Linked DNA regions of Homo sapiens: all the other regions are linked to region 2. The links are contacts of gene promoters, found by promoter capture Hi-C in human tissues and cell types (Jung and others, 2019). All regions are on one chromosome and are shown on one strand. Each heading gives the region's core, a stretch centred on a gene start or on the middle of the fragment in contact. The rest is flanking DNA. Distances are from core to core; before and after follow the strand shown.

Region 1 (4,539 bases), core at 76-2,575, 360 kb after region 2:
TGGCTGAGGTGGCTCAACTGGGACTGTGAGATCCCACAGCTTCACTCACCCATGCAGTGCCTCAGCTGAAGGGGTCAGAATGGCTGGTGGCTGGCTGGGCATCCTGCTCTCCCTTTGCTGTCTTTCATCTTCTAGGTCATTTCTCTCTCCAATAAAGCAGGTGAACTTGGTTTCATAGTGGCTGGATCCCAAGAGGGTGAAAATGGAAACTGCCAGGCCTCCTAAGGCCTAAGTCTGGACCTGGCATAATATCACTTCCACCTTCTACTAGTCAAAGTGAGTCACAAGGCTGGCCCAGATTTAAGGGGAGGGGCGAAAGGAAATAAATTTCACTTCTTTTTTTTTTTTTTTTTCTGAGAGGAGACTAGCTCTGTCAGCTAGACTGGAGTGCAGTGGTGCAATCTTAGCTCACTGCAACCTCCGCCTCCCGAGTTCAAGCAATTCTCCTGCCTCAGCCTTCTGAGTAGCCCAGCTAATTTTTGCATTTGCAGTAGAGATGGGGTTTCACCATGTTGACTAGGCTGCTCTCAAATTCCTGACCTCATGTGATCTGCCGACTTTGGCCTCCCAAAGTGGTGTGATTACAGGTGTGAGCCACTGCGCCCGGCCACATTCCACTTCTTGATGGGAGGAGTGACATTACAGGGATGAACAAAACTGTTGGTGGCCATCTTTGTTGATAATGCACCACAACGAGTAAAAGTGAAATGGAGATTTTTTCATCAATGGGAGGCTCCACATGAAAATTTTCTAAAACAAAACAAAATTTAAAAATTAAAACAAGGTCTTTTCAGAGGAAGACTTTTGAAAGAGTTTATCCTAAAGTACCATCAGCAAGAGAGCTGCTAATACATTTTTGTTAAGAGAAAGGAAATTGACCTCAAAAGGAGTGAGAGGGCAATGAAAGCAATGAAGAGCAAAGAAACTGGTAAACATGTGGGTAAGTCCACAGAAGCACTGATGGTGGGAACCACAGCAGCAATGACGATGATTGGTTGGAGGCATGAAAACAAAGTCAGCCTGTGATGCCGAGTGACAGTCTGTAAGACAGAAGGTGTGATCAGAGCTAAAGAGTGCCTTTCCTCCTGCAGGGGACAATTTCTGATTAGCTTTAGATTCTGTAATTCAGTGCGCATGTGAAAAATGTGGATGGAGGGAAGCATGAGAGACTAGGAATGAAATCCATCACTTCCAAGCCCAAACAAACAAACAAACAAATGTATGAACAATAAACAAATAAAGAAATAAAACTAGAAAAAGTAATAAAAGAGACTCAATACATTTTTTTTTCTTGAGACTGAGTCTCGCTCTGTCACCCAGGCTGGAGTGCAGTGGCACAATCTTGGCTCACTGCAACCTCCACCTCCTGGGTTCGAGCAGTAAGAGAATCAATAAATTTGAGGCCGGGTGCGGTGGCTCACACTGGTAATCCTAGCACTTTTGGAGGCTGAGGGGGGCAGACTACCTGAGATCAGGAGCTCGAGACCAGCCTGGCCAACATAGCAAAACCCTGTTTCTACTAAAAATACAAAAATTAGCCGGGTATGGTGGCAGGCACCTGTAATCCCAGCTACTGGGGAGGCTGAGGCAGGAGAACTGCTTGAACCCAGGAGGTAGAGGTTGCAGTGAGCCAAGATTGCGCCACTGCACTCCAGCCTGGGCGACAAAGCGAGACTCTGTCTCAAAAAAAAAAAAAGAAAAATTTGACAGGAGTAGGACAAAAGTGAAGAGAAACAAAAAGGGCTAGGTGCGGTGGCTCACGCCTGTAATCCCAACACTTTTGGAGGCCAAGGTGGACAGATCACCTGAGGTCAGGAGTTCGAGACCAGCCTGGCCAACATGGTGAAACCCCATCTCTACTAAAAATACAAAAATTAGGTGGGCGTGGTAGCAGGCACCTGTAATCCCAGCTACTCAGAAGGCTGAGGCAGGAGAATCACTTGAACCTGGGAGGCCGAGGTTGCAATGAGTCAAGATTGCGTCACTGGACTTCAGCCTGGTTGACAGAGCAAGACTCTGTTTCCAAAAAAAAAAAAAAAAAAAGTGAATGTTCTTAATGTCCCTGAAATGTACACTTAAAAGTGGTTAAGATAGAAAATTTTATGCCATGTATATTTTACCACAACAAAAAAACATGCCAAGCAACCCTAGCAGATCCACGCATGAACAGCAGAGGTATAAAAGCATGCAGGGGACTGATACACCATACATTCAGGAGCGCAGTCATGCCTGGGTGGGCGAGGAACCCAGGTAGGAAAGGGAACACCAAACACAGGATGCTTTCGGTGGATCTGTTATGCTTCCGTTCTAAAAACAGAATCTGACACGCTTACATTTCTTACCATTATACTGTAGACTTTTCTTTTCTTTTTCTTTTTGAGGTGGAGTTTCACTGTTGTTGCCCAGGCTGGAGCGCAATGGCATGACCTCTGCTCACCGCAACCTCCGCCTCCTGCGTTCAAGCAATTCTCCTGCCTCAGCCTCCCAAGTAGCTGTGATTACAGGCATGCGCCATTACGCCTGGCTAATTTTGTATTTTTAGTAGAGACAGGGTTTCTCCATGTTGGTCAGGCTGGTCTCGAACTTCCGACCTCAGGTGATCCACCTGCCTTGGCCTCCCAAAGTGCTGGGATTACAGACGTGAGCCATTGCACCCAGCTTGTTTTTCTTTCTTTTTTTTTTTTTTGAGACGGAGTTTCGCTCTTGTTGCCCAGGCTGAAGTGCAATGGCACCGTATCGGGTCACTGCAACCTCCACCTCCCGGGTTCAAGTGATTCTCCTGCCTCAGCCTCCTGAGTAGCTGGGATTACAGGCGCCTGCCACCACGCCCAGCTAATTGTTTGTATTTTTAGTAGAGACAGGGTTTCTCCATGTTAGGCAGGCTGGTCTCGAACTCCCAACCTCAGGTGATCCGCCCACCTCAGCCTCCTAAAGTGCTGGGATTACAGGCATGAGCCACTGTACCTGGCCAGCTGACCACCTCTTTATCCTGGGAACAAGCTCCTCCTGCAGCTGCCTCCGCGTATTTGGCATCATCCTTGCCAAGTCTGGAGCAGGGCCTTGTGTGTGGTGTTGTCTCCCCTGGAAGTCTCCAAGTCAGAAGATCCTTCCTGACCCACCCTCTCCAGGCCGACCCACCACATCGCCATTGCAAGAATCCCAGCAGCGGAGGGTGGAGAAACTGCCTGGGGAATCTGAGCTATTAAACAAGCCGTCATCCGCAGGGGCTGCAGCAGCAAAGGCTGCCTTTTCTGGGGAAACCTGGAAGTGTCTTTTTGAGTCAACAGTAGGTGCCCTGCTGTCCTCGCTGCATTTGCTGGAAGTTGTTTGCAGAGGTCTGGGCATCTGGAATTCACTGCCAAGGCCGTGAGGAAGGTGGTCGACGTTCCAGCTCAGCGTCACCTGCCAGAGCCTCCTCCTTCCCCAGCAGGTGACCCCTTCCCCCTTGAACCGGAGATGAAGGTGTTTGCTATGATCTCACCTCCATGTTACTGACTGTCTCCATTCCCCTGGCTGAGCTAAGCCTCTGTGGCCATGGGTGTCCTCTGAGCTCTCATGCAAATGGTGAAGCCAAGCCTGGACTGCATGCGGACCATGGTAAGGCCCCAGAGGACATGGTCCTATTTGCTGCTTTGAGGCTGATCTTTGCTTATCTGACCACCAGGGTTACCCTGAGGCTGCAAGCGTGGAAGTAATGCCCAGGTAGGCCCCTGCCACCCTCCCTCCAGCCACAGGCTTGTGTTATGTGAGGTTCAGAGTGAGAAGGCTCCTGAAGGAGCAGCTTTGTGGTGATTGGCTGACAACACTCTCAACACGCCTCCTCTGAGCCTTCTGGAATATTTGCCAGGAACATGACTGAGGCCTGCACAGTGAGGCAGAGGACACAGTCCTCTGGGCCCCTCAGCTGCTGAAATGAAGTCAACTGCAGTGTTTCTACCCATAAGTGAAACAGGCGTATGGCTGACTATCTGCGCGGCTAAAATACATCATTTCCGACCTTTTTTCTTTTTTTTGAGATGGAGTTTCACTCTTATTCCCCAGGCTAGAGTGCAATGGCGTGATCTCAGCTCACTACAACCTCCACCTCCCAGGTTCAAGCAATTCTCCTGCCTCAGCCTCCCAAATAGCTGGGATTACAGGCATGTGCCACCATGCCCTGCTAATTTTGTATTTTTAGTAGAGACGGGGTTTCACCATGTTGGTCAGGCTGGTCTCAGAACTCCTGAGGTCAGGTGATCCACCCACCTCAGCCTCCCAAAATGCTGGGATTACAGGCATAAGCCACCGTGCTGGCTAGTTTTGTATTTTTAGTAGAGACGGGGTTTCACCATGTTGGTCAGGTTGGTCTTGAAACTCCTGAGGTCAGGTGATCCACACGCCTTGGCCTCCCAAACTGCTGGGATTACAGGTATGAGCCACCGCGCCCGGCTTATCATTTCCAACTCTTACAATGGCTTTTGAAGAGAGCTGTTACTATCCCCACTTTGCCAAAGAAGAAACTGAGGCTCAGAGAAGTCATATAACTTGCCTGCATGCAAG
Region 2 (4,483 bases), core at 930-3,429:
TGCCCGGCCGCCCATCATCTGAGATGTGGGGAGCGCCTCTGCCCCGCCGTAGCCACCCCGCCAGCCGCCCCGTCCGGGAGGGAGGTGGGGGGCCAGCCCCCGCACGGCCAGCCGCCCCGTCCGGGAGGGAGGTGGGGGGGCGCCTCCGCCCGGCCGCCGCCCCGTCCGGGAGGTGGGGGGCGCCTCTGCCCGGCCGCCCCTTCTGGGAGGTGAGGAGCCCCTCTGCCCGGCCACCACCCCGTCTAGGAGGTGTACCCAACAGCTCATTGAGAACGGGCCATGATGACAATGGTGGTTTTGTGGAATAGAAAAGGGGGAAAGGTGGGGAAAAGATAGAGATCGGATTGTTGCTGTGTCTGTGTGGAAAGAAGTAGACATGGGAGACTTCATTTTGTTCTGTACTAAGAAAAATTCTTCTGCCTTGGGATGCTGTTGATCTATGACCTTACCCCCAACCCTGTGCTCTCTGAAACATGTGCTGTGTCCACTCAGGGTTAAATGGATTAAGGGCGGTGCAAGATGTGCTTTGTTAAACAGATGCTTGAAGGCAGCATGCTCGTTAGGAGTCATCACCACTCCCTAATCTCAAGTACCCAGGGACACAAACACTGCGGAAGGCCGCAGGGTCCTCTGCCTAGGAAAGCCAGAGACCTTTGTTCACTTGTTTATCTGCTGACCTTCCCTCCACTATTGTCCTATGACCCTGCCAAATCCCCCTCTGCCAGAAACACCCAAGAATGATCAATAAAAAAAAAAAAAAAAAAAAAAGGAAGAATAGACTCTCTCTGGGACTGCCAATAATTTTTCCTTCTAAGCATAGACACCGGACCACTCTCCACCTAAGCATCACGAAAAATGTAGAGAAAGGAAGAGCTAAGAGCTCCTTAAACAAGTTCAGGCTTGACACAACCCTGGCCCTGACAGCCAGGGTCTTCAAGCGGGCCTTTCTGTGAAGGGTGGCCAGGCATCAACTTAGTAGGAGAGAAAACAGATGACTTATTTCCATCCACACTTAAGGAAAATGCAGTCTCCAAGGACTGCGTACATTTCTTTTTCGAGAAGGAGTCTCGCTGTTGTCGCCCAGGCTGGAGTGCAGTGGCGCAGTCTGGGCTCACAGCAACCTCTGCCTCCCGGATTCAAGCAATTCTCCTGCCTCAGCCTCGTGAGTAGCTGGGATTACAGGCACCCGCCACCACGCCTGGCTAATTTTTGTAGTTTTGGTAGAGACGGGGTTTCACCATGTTGGCCAGGCTGGTCTCGAACTCCTGACCTCCAGTGATTCGCCCGCCTTGGCCTCCCAAAATGCTGGGATTACAGGCGTGAGCCACCGCGCCCGGGCGACTGCGCACATTTCTATGGAGCTGTAAGTTAAAAGAGAAGGCAGTGAGGTGCTTCTGTCATTCTATGACAGAAACAGCTAAAGAGTAGAGAAATGTTCACAAGATTTAATAGAACAGAAATAGGAGAAGGTGCACACAAGCTCAACCAACTATAGCCTCACAAATAAAAGTGTCTTTTGTGTGTAGTACTTAAGTTTGGAATATTCTTTCTTATACAAATGAGTGGGGCTTAACCTAAGAAATCCTGGCCAGATTCTGCGACGAATGCATCGGTTATCTCTGACCCATCAGCAAACATCTTTTTCTGTGGCTTCAGTTTCCTCAGTAAAACAGAGGGGGTTGCGACGGACTCAGTCCGAGGGACAGCCATTCTCCAACGTCTATCCAAAGCCTAGGGCACCTCAATACTAACCGGCAGGCCAGCGCCCCCTCCGCGGGGCTGCGGACAGGACGCCTGTTATTCCATTCCTCGGCCGGGCTCTACAGGTGACCGGAAGAAGAGCCCCGAGTGCGGGACTGCAGTGCGCCCGACCTGCTCTAGGCGCAGGTCACTCCCGAACCCCGGCAGCAAAGCATCCAGCGCCGGAAAAGGTCCCGCGGTCGCCCCGGGGCCGGCGCTGGGGAGGAAGGAGTGGAGCGCGCTGGCCCCGTGACGTGGTCCAATCCCAGGCCGACGCCGGCTGCTTCTGCCCAACCGGTGGCTGGTCCCCTCCGCCGCCCCATTACAAGGCTGGCAAAGGGAGGGGGCGGGGCCTGGGACGTGGTCCAATGAGTACGCGCGCCGGGGCGGCGGGGGCGGGGCCGGGCGCGCAGCGCAGGGCCGGGCGGCCGAGGCTCCAATGAGCGCGCGCCGCGTCCGGGGCCGGCTGGTGCGCGAGACGCCGCCGAGAGGTTGGTGGCTAATGTAACAGTTTGCAAACCGAGAGGAGTTGTGAAGGGCGCGGGTGGGGGGCGCTGCCGGCCTCGTGGGTACGTTCGTGCCGCGTCTGTCCCAGAGCTGGGGCCGCAGGAGCGGAGGCAAGAGGTAGCGGGGGTGGATGGAGGTGCGGGCCGGCCACCCCTCCTAGGGGAGACAGCGTGCGAGCTCCGGGGGCGGGTCGGGAGCGCAAGGGAGGGCCGCGCGGACGCCGGGCGCTCGGCCTCGCACCGGGGGGCACGCAGCTCGGCCCCCGGTCTGTCCCCACTTGCTGGGGCGGGCCGGGATCCGTTTCCGGGAGTGGGAGCCGCCGCCTTCGTCAGGTGGGGTTTAGGTGAACACCGGGTAACGGCTACCCGCCGGGCGGGGAACCTTACCGCCCCTGGCACTGCGTCTGTGGGCACAGCGGGGCCGGGGAGTGAGCTGGGAAAGGGGAGGGGGCGGGACAACCCGCAGGGATGCCGAGGAGGAGATAGGCCTTTCCTTCATCCTAGCTACCCCCAACGTCATTACCTTTCTCTTCCCGTCCAGGCCCAGCTGGCTTTCCCCGTCAGCGGGGGAGCTCCAGGTGTGGGGAGGTGGTTGAGCCCTGGGCGGGGATCCCTGGCCGCACCCCAGGTGTCTGACAACAGGCACAGTGCTGCGGTGCGCCACTCACTGCCTGTGTGGTGGACAAAAGGCTCGGGTCTCCTTTCTCTTGTCCTGTTAGCTTCTCTGTTTAGGGATGTGGCAAAGCCGAGGACCCATGCTCTTTCACTTGGGCCTTTGTGTGGGCGCTGCTGGGATGATTAGAGAATGGTTTGTACCCATCAGGAGGGAGAAGGGGAGAAGTAGGCTGATCTGCCCTGGGTAAGAATGAAGTAGATATGAATCTTACAGCCTCTCCGTTCTGGGATGTGATTCTGTCTCCTTCACTCCGGGTATCCAGTTTTAAGTGTTTTCTTTCTTCGCCTCCCCCAGGGGCACTATGGCAGACAAAGTTAGGAGGCAGAGGCCGAGGAGGCGAGTCTGTTGGGCCTTGGTGGCTGTGCTCTTGGCAGACCTGTTGGCACTGAGTGGTATGTACCCCAGTAGAGGGAGCAAATGGATAAATGATGACTGAAGGATGCATGATGGGAATTGAGCTTGGGGCTGTTGGCCAGAAGTCTCTTGAGTTGTTAGGTCCAGGCCTTTTTGTCTTTTGCCATCTTCGTTTACCCATGGAAAGTGGTATGCTTTGATTAGAGGGAGTCCCAGGAAGGTGGGCGAAGGGAGAGCTAACTGACAAACCTCTTTTCCCTTCAGATACACTGGCAGTGATGTCTGTGGACCTGGGCAGTGAGTCCATGAAGGTGGCCATTGTCAAACCTGGAGTGCCCATGGAAATTGTCTTGAATAAGTGAGGGTGGCCCCCGTGTTAAGGGTGGGGAACGAGGGAGTCTGGGCTCCAAGTGTGAATGTGTTAGTCATAGTGCCCACAGCAGACTTCGGCATCTGAGTGGTTAAATGTGTGTGAGTGTCGAGGCTTCTGAGTCCTTCTGCTGCAGGCACCTGGGCCCAAAATCTCTTTTCCTCAGGGAATCTCGGAGGAAAACACCGGTGATCGTGACCCTGAAAGAAAATGAAAGATTCTTTGGAGACAGTGCAGCAAGCATGGTGAGCTAGCAGTCCCTCTTCCCAGAGTGGTGGGCAGAGGAGAGGAGATGGCAGCCCCCAGAGTCTGTTTCCTTATCAGTCTCTGTGATGTAAGAGGTAGGTAATGGTGGACTTGGGAGCCTAATACTAGTCTGCTCCTTCTTCACCCCTCAGGCGATTAAGAATCCAAAGGCTACGCTACGTTACTTCCAGCACCTCCTGGGGAAGCAGGCAGATAACCCCCATGTAGCTCTTTACCAGGCCCGCTTCCCGGAGCACGAGCTGACTTTCGACCCACAGAGGCAGACTGTGCACTTTCAGATCAGCTCGTGAGTGCTCTGTTGGGGAAGGTGGTCTCGGCAACGCTGCTGGGCTCCTCATTGGTGTGTGTTCCTGATTGTCCTGCCTTAATGCCTGGCTTTCCTTGGCTCCAACTACCTTCCTTCCCCTCAGGCAGCTGCAGTTCTCACCTGAGGAAGTGTTGGGCATGGTTCTCAATTATTCTCGTTCTCTAGCTGAAGATTTTGCAGGTGAGTGGTCAAGGTGGGGCCCTTAGGGCCAGGCTCCCCAGGATCTAGGGCAGTGATTCTCCAACAGGGGCAAGTTTGCCTCC
Region 3 (4,177 bases), core at 607-3,106, 300 kb before region 2:
CTCCAGGGGACAGACGAAGGGACATCTTTGGAAAACGCTGGTTTTGGTTTTTAAAAAGCCCAACTTTTTTTTTTTAATTTCCATAACTAAAGTGTTCAGACTGGAGTGCTCTCCTTCAGGCCTCTTCATAGCTGGGACGTTGCACTGGTCCTTTTATTGCTTTTCCAAGTACAACTTTCTAATGCTAGCCCTCCGTGGTGCTAGGTGGGCGTTGGCCAGGCCCCAAGCACAGCCACAGTAGACCTGGGATCTAAAACAAGTTTCTGTTTTGGGGGTTTGGGTTTTTTTTTTTTTTTTTTAATGTTTTGAATGGAATTTAGTTGCCTCCAAGAATTGTGCCTTATAGCATTTGGGGACCAGGGGGTAACTGCCCCTCCTGAAATATCCCTCAGCCTCTTCCCTTTTCCCCAGTGCTCTGTTCAAACCCGCCTGGGAAAGGGATCCTGCCCTTAGCCCTGGCTCGTTGTGCATTGCAGTGAGGCAAAGAAGAAAGCAGGTAGATTCCTTCCGACAGGGCATCAAGTTCTTCCCGCCCACGTCCTCTAGCCCACCCCTGGTCTGCTCCCCAGCTGTTTGAAGGATAGCACAAGCCCCTCGTCCCTAGAGCTTCTCTCCCTTTTATTTATTCTCTTAACATCCCTTTCCCCCTGGCCTTCCTGCCCCCGCCCCCTTCTCAGAGCCTCCTAGACAATAGGCCCTTTGGACCGAGTTTCTCAGGGATGCCCAGGCCACCCCTCAGCTCTTCTTAGCGCTGGTCTCCAGTCCTGCCCTGGGAGCTGGAGCCTGGGTATTTGGGGACATCTTGCCTCAGTTGTATGGTTCTTTCCTGTGGGCTCAATTTTGCCCTACATAGTTGGATAAAACTCTGTGCTGTCCTGGAGAGTAAAGCTGTTCACCCACACAGCTGGGCCCGGCTTGTGCCCCGTGGAGCCTGGCACATTCCAGGCTCCTAGGAGGAGGCATCAGAGAAAGACACCCTGAGTTTTACTGGCCTGACACCCTTCTCCAGAGAAGACCTGTGAACCTGAGCCCAAGGGCAAGTGTACACTTGTTTACTGTGTAAGCAAGAGTAGAAGAATGTCTAATGTACAGTGGAACCTTGTACAGAATAAATAATAGCTTTGAGAAATCAGTTGGCAGATGTTGGAATCTTGATTTGGGAGTGTTTGAATCTAGGAAGGGCTCCTAGTATATTAGGGGCCATCTATTTCATTGTTTCAACCAGTTTGTAAATTCCAAGTTTCTGGAAAAAGTTACCCACTTTTTAGTTTGAACATTTAAGTTTAATTTTTTAAAAACTGAAACAATACATATTTTGGACACTATATTCTTCATCTGGATTCACCAATTGTTTACAAACACATTTAAATATACAGCCATCCCCCAGTATACACAGGGAGATTGGTTCCAAGATACACACATACCAAAATCTGCACCATATTCAAGTCCCAAGGTCACCCCTGCAGAACCTGCGTATATGAAAATCAGCCTTCTATATATGTGGGTTTTGCATCTTACAAATGCAGTATTTTCTATCCTTATTTGGTTGAAAAAATCCACGTGAAAGTGGACCCACACAGTTCAAGCCCGCATTGTTCAAAGGTCAACTGTACTTTATTCTGTCTGCCGAAACATTTTCAGGTGAGGTGTTATATCACCACTTCTAAATACTTGAGCATACATCTCCTAAGAATCAGGACATTCTCCTATGTGACATGGTTTTCACATGTCCATTTTTTTTTTTAATGAACTGTCTACTTTTTAATGCTGGTATGGGCTACTCTCTTAATTCTTGGTTGAAACTCTTGGGGCTGGGCATGGTGGCTCACACCAGTAATTCAAGAAGTTGAAGTGAGAGGATGGCTTAAGGCCAGGAGTTTGAGACCAGCCTGGGCAACATAGTGAGACCCTGTCTCTATGAAAAAAGAAACACTTGGGTGTTTTCACAGACCTATGATAAGATAAAATACATCTCTCCAGCAGATGTCAAATATAGCAAAACTTGCTCTTAGAGCAGAGTATCATTACCTGGATGTGGAGTGACCAGGGCTTAGTCTTTTTTTTTTTTTTTTTTTTTTTTTGAGACAGAGTTTCACTCTTGTTGCCCAGGCTGGAGCGCAATGGCATGATCTCAGCTCACTGCAACCTCCATCTCCTGGGTTCAAGCGATTCTCCTGCCTCAGCCTCCCAGTAGCTGGGATTACAGGCATACGCCACCACGACCAGCTATTTTTCTATTTTTAGTAGAGACGGGGGTGTCTCCATGTTGGTCAGGCTGGTCTCGAACTCCTGACCTCAGGTGATCTGCCTGACTCGGCCTCCCAAAGTGCTGAGATTACAGGCGTGAGCCACCACGCCCAGCCAGGGCTTAGTCTTTGATAAGTCAAAGATCTCAGCTTTACCACCTAATACTTAGAAACAGTTACCTTTATGTTACAGGCTTTGTTCCCTAAAGTGCTTTTTCTCAAGACTTCAGATTTAACCCCTAAAAGAGGTGATGCCTTTGGTGCACTCGGTGACCCACGTCTCCTTTGGTGTCACCTCTTCATTAGCACTGTTCAGCTTTTCCATTTCTGCTGCTGGTCTTAGAACTAGGGAAGCTGAAGGCTCCACCAGGTGAGCCTGGAGTGTTTCATCAGGATTCTTCCTCACTGCCTTCACTGCTCCAGACACTGAAAAATAAAGGCCTGACTATTCCATCCTTGCTGAGACAGAAGCACCTGCTGTCACTTAAGGCCTGTGTGCTGCTATCAAACCCACCTCATGGAGGGGGACAGTTGTGGGGGCATTTTTCTAAGCATTTCCCAAGAGTGAAGAAGAGGGATTGAAAATGACAGTGACTTAAAACTTGGAATTTCTCCCTGAGGGACCCAAACTTCCCTGGCCTGCCCTGAGGGTGGCCTGACCCAGGCTGTGATTGGAAATCTTACCCTGATGATTGCCCCCAAGCCGCAGGCAAACAGGATCCCCTCAAAATAAAAACATGAGGCTTGTAGCAAAGTGAATGGCTGTACTCTGACTAGTTCTTCACTGGAGGTAGAAGCAGCCCTGTAATTTTTGCTGTCTTCCACTGGGGAACAGATGGACTCTAGGAGACATTGAGGGCAGGGGCTCCACTCAGGTCCGCCACCCTTGCTCCCAGCTCTTCAGTAATTAATCTGTGGTGCTTTCTCATCCCCATGGCAACAGGTCCTAGTGTTACACAGAGCACAAACACACGCAGGTCTGTCCCCACGTTTTTTTGTCCATCAAGCTTTGCCTCCTAGCAACTTGGCTCTCTTCCCTCATTGTTTGCTCTTGATCCAGCAGGCCTCTCCCTAGGGGAGGGGCTTCCCCTGCAACTGCTCTTGTGTGACCTTGAACAAGAACCTCCCTCTTTCTGGGCCTCCGTGCCTCATCTGCAAATTACTGAGATAGGACTTGTGGATCTTGAAGGTCTCCACTCCCATGTTATCAATCATTCTAAGTCACTTTTCCTCTAAACACATGCTCAAGTCCCAAGATACGGAACTTAACTCTAGTTCCCTGGTTCCAGTTTATAGAATTTTTTTAAGTGACCAATGCTCAGAATGCTTACTTCTTTCTATAAAGCTATATTTTATATATTTTTTTATTTATTTATTTTTTGAGACAGAGTCTCACTGTGTCACCCAGGGTGAGAGTGCAGTCATGTGATCTCGGCTCACTGCAACCTCCACCTCCCGGGTTCAAGCGATTCTCCTGCCTCAGCCTCCCGAGTAGCTGGGATTACAGGCATGCACCACCATGCCTGACTAATTTTGTATTTTTAGTAGAGACAGGGTTTCACCATGTTGGCCAGGCTGGTCTCGAACTCCTGACCTCAGGTGATCCACCCGCCTTGACCTCCCAAACTGCTGGGATTACAGGCGTAAGCCACCATGCCCGGCCTCTACAAAGCTTTAGAGTTAGATCATAGAGGTCACCTTGTCCATGATCTCGATTTGGCAGTGAGGATACTGAGCCCTAGAGAAGACTTGCTCAAGGCCACATAGCATGTCAGAAGCAGAGACAGGATGGAACCTGGGTATCTTGACTCCCTACCCAGTTCTCTTTCCGAGTACTCTGTCTTTAGTTTGAATAATTGACAGCATTTTGCAGGACTTTCTGCAGCAAATTTTCCAACCCTGCATCTATTAGGAACTGAGCCAAACAGCAG

What was found. The method cuts DNA at HindIII sites, captures the fragments that hold promoters and counts their contacts. A contact is called where the count stands out against the background at its distance.
Region 1: a fragment that was not itself captured here is called in contact with the fragment with the promoter of HYOU1 in region 2 in 1 of the 25 tissues and cell types used here (spleen).
Region 3: a fragment that was not itself captured here is called in contact with the fragment with the promoter of HYOU1 in region 2 in 1 of the 25 tissues and cell types used here (dorsolateral prefrontal cortex).

Annotation. Positions count from the first base shown.
Region 1 is chr11:118,696,154-118,700,692 of GRCh38, reverse strand. All of the region lies in intron 2 of LOC105369519 (a long non-coding RNA gene), which reads right to left. Among named protein-coding and RNA genes, the nearest start is that of TREH, 19 kb to the right of the region's middle. The HindIII fragment of the contact is 7,665 bases long and covers 1-4,539 here.
Region 2 is chr11:119,054,901-119,059,383 of GRCh38, reverse strand. HYOU1 (hypoxia up-regulated 1) reads left to right here and starts at 2,179. Exons shown (of 26, transcript NM_006389.5): 1 at 2,179-2,364; 2 at 3,217-3,314; 3 at 3,541-3,634; 4 at 3,813-3,891; 5 at 4,045-4,199; 6 at 4,324-4,400. The coding sequence starts at 3,224. RefSeq lists enhancers at 1,672-1,721, 2,081-2,580, 2,581-3,081 and silencers at 1,952-2,231, 2,322-2,601. The HindIII fragment of the contact is 15,957 bases long and covers 1-4,483 here.
Region 3 is chr11:119,352,170-119,356,346 of GRCh38, reverse strand. USP2 (ubiquitin specific peptidase 2) reads left to right here. Exons shown (of 13, transcript NM_004205.5): 13 at 1-1,132. Among named protein-coding and RNA genes, the nearest start is that of MFRP, 7.6 kb to the right of the region's middle. The HindIII fragment of the contact is 6,124 bases long and covers 1-4,177 here.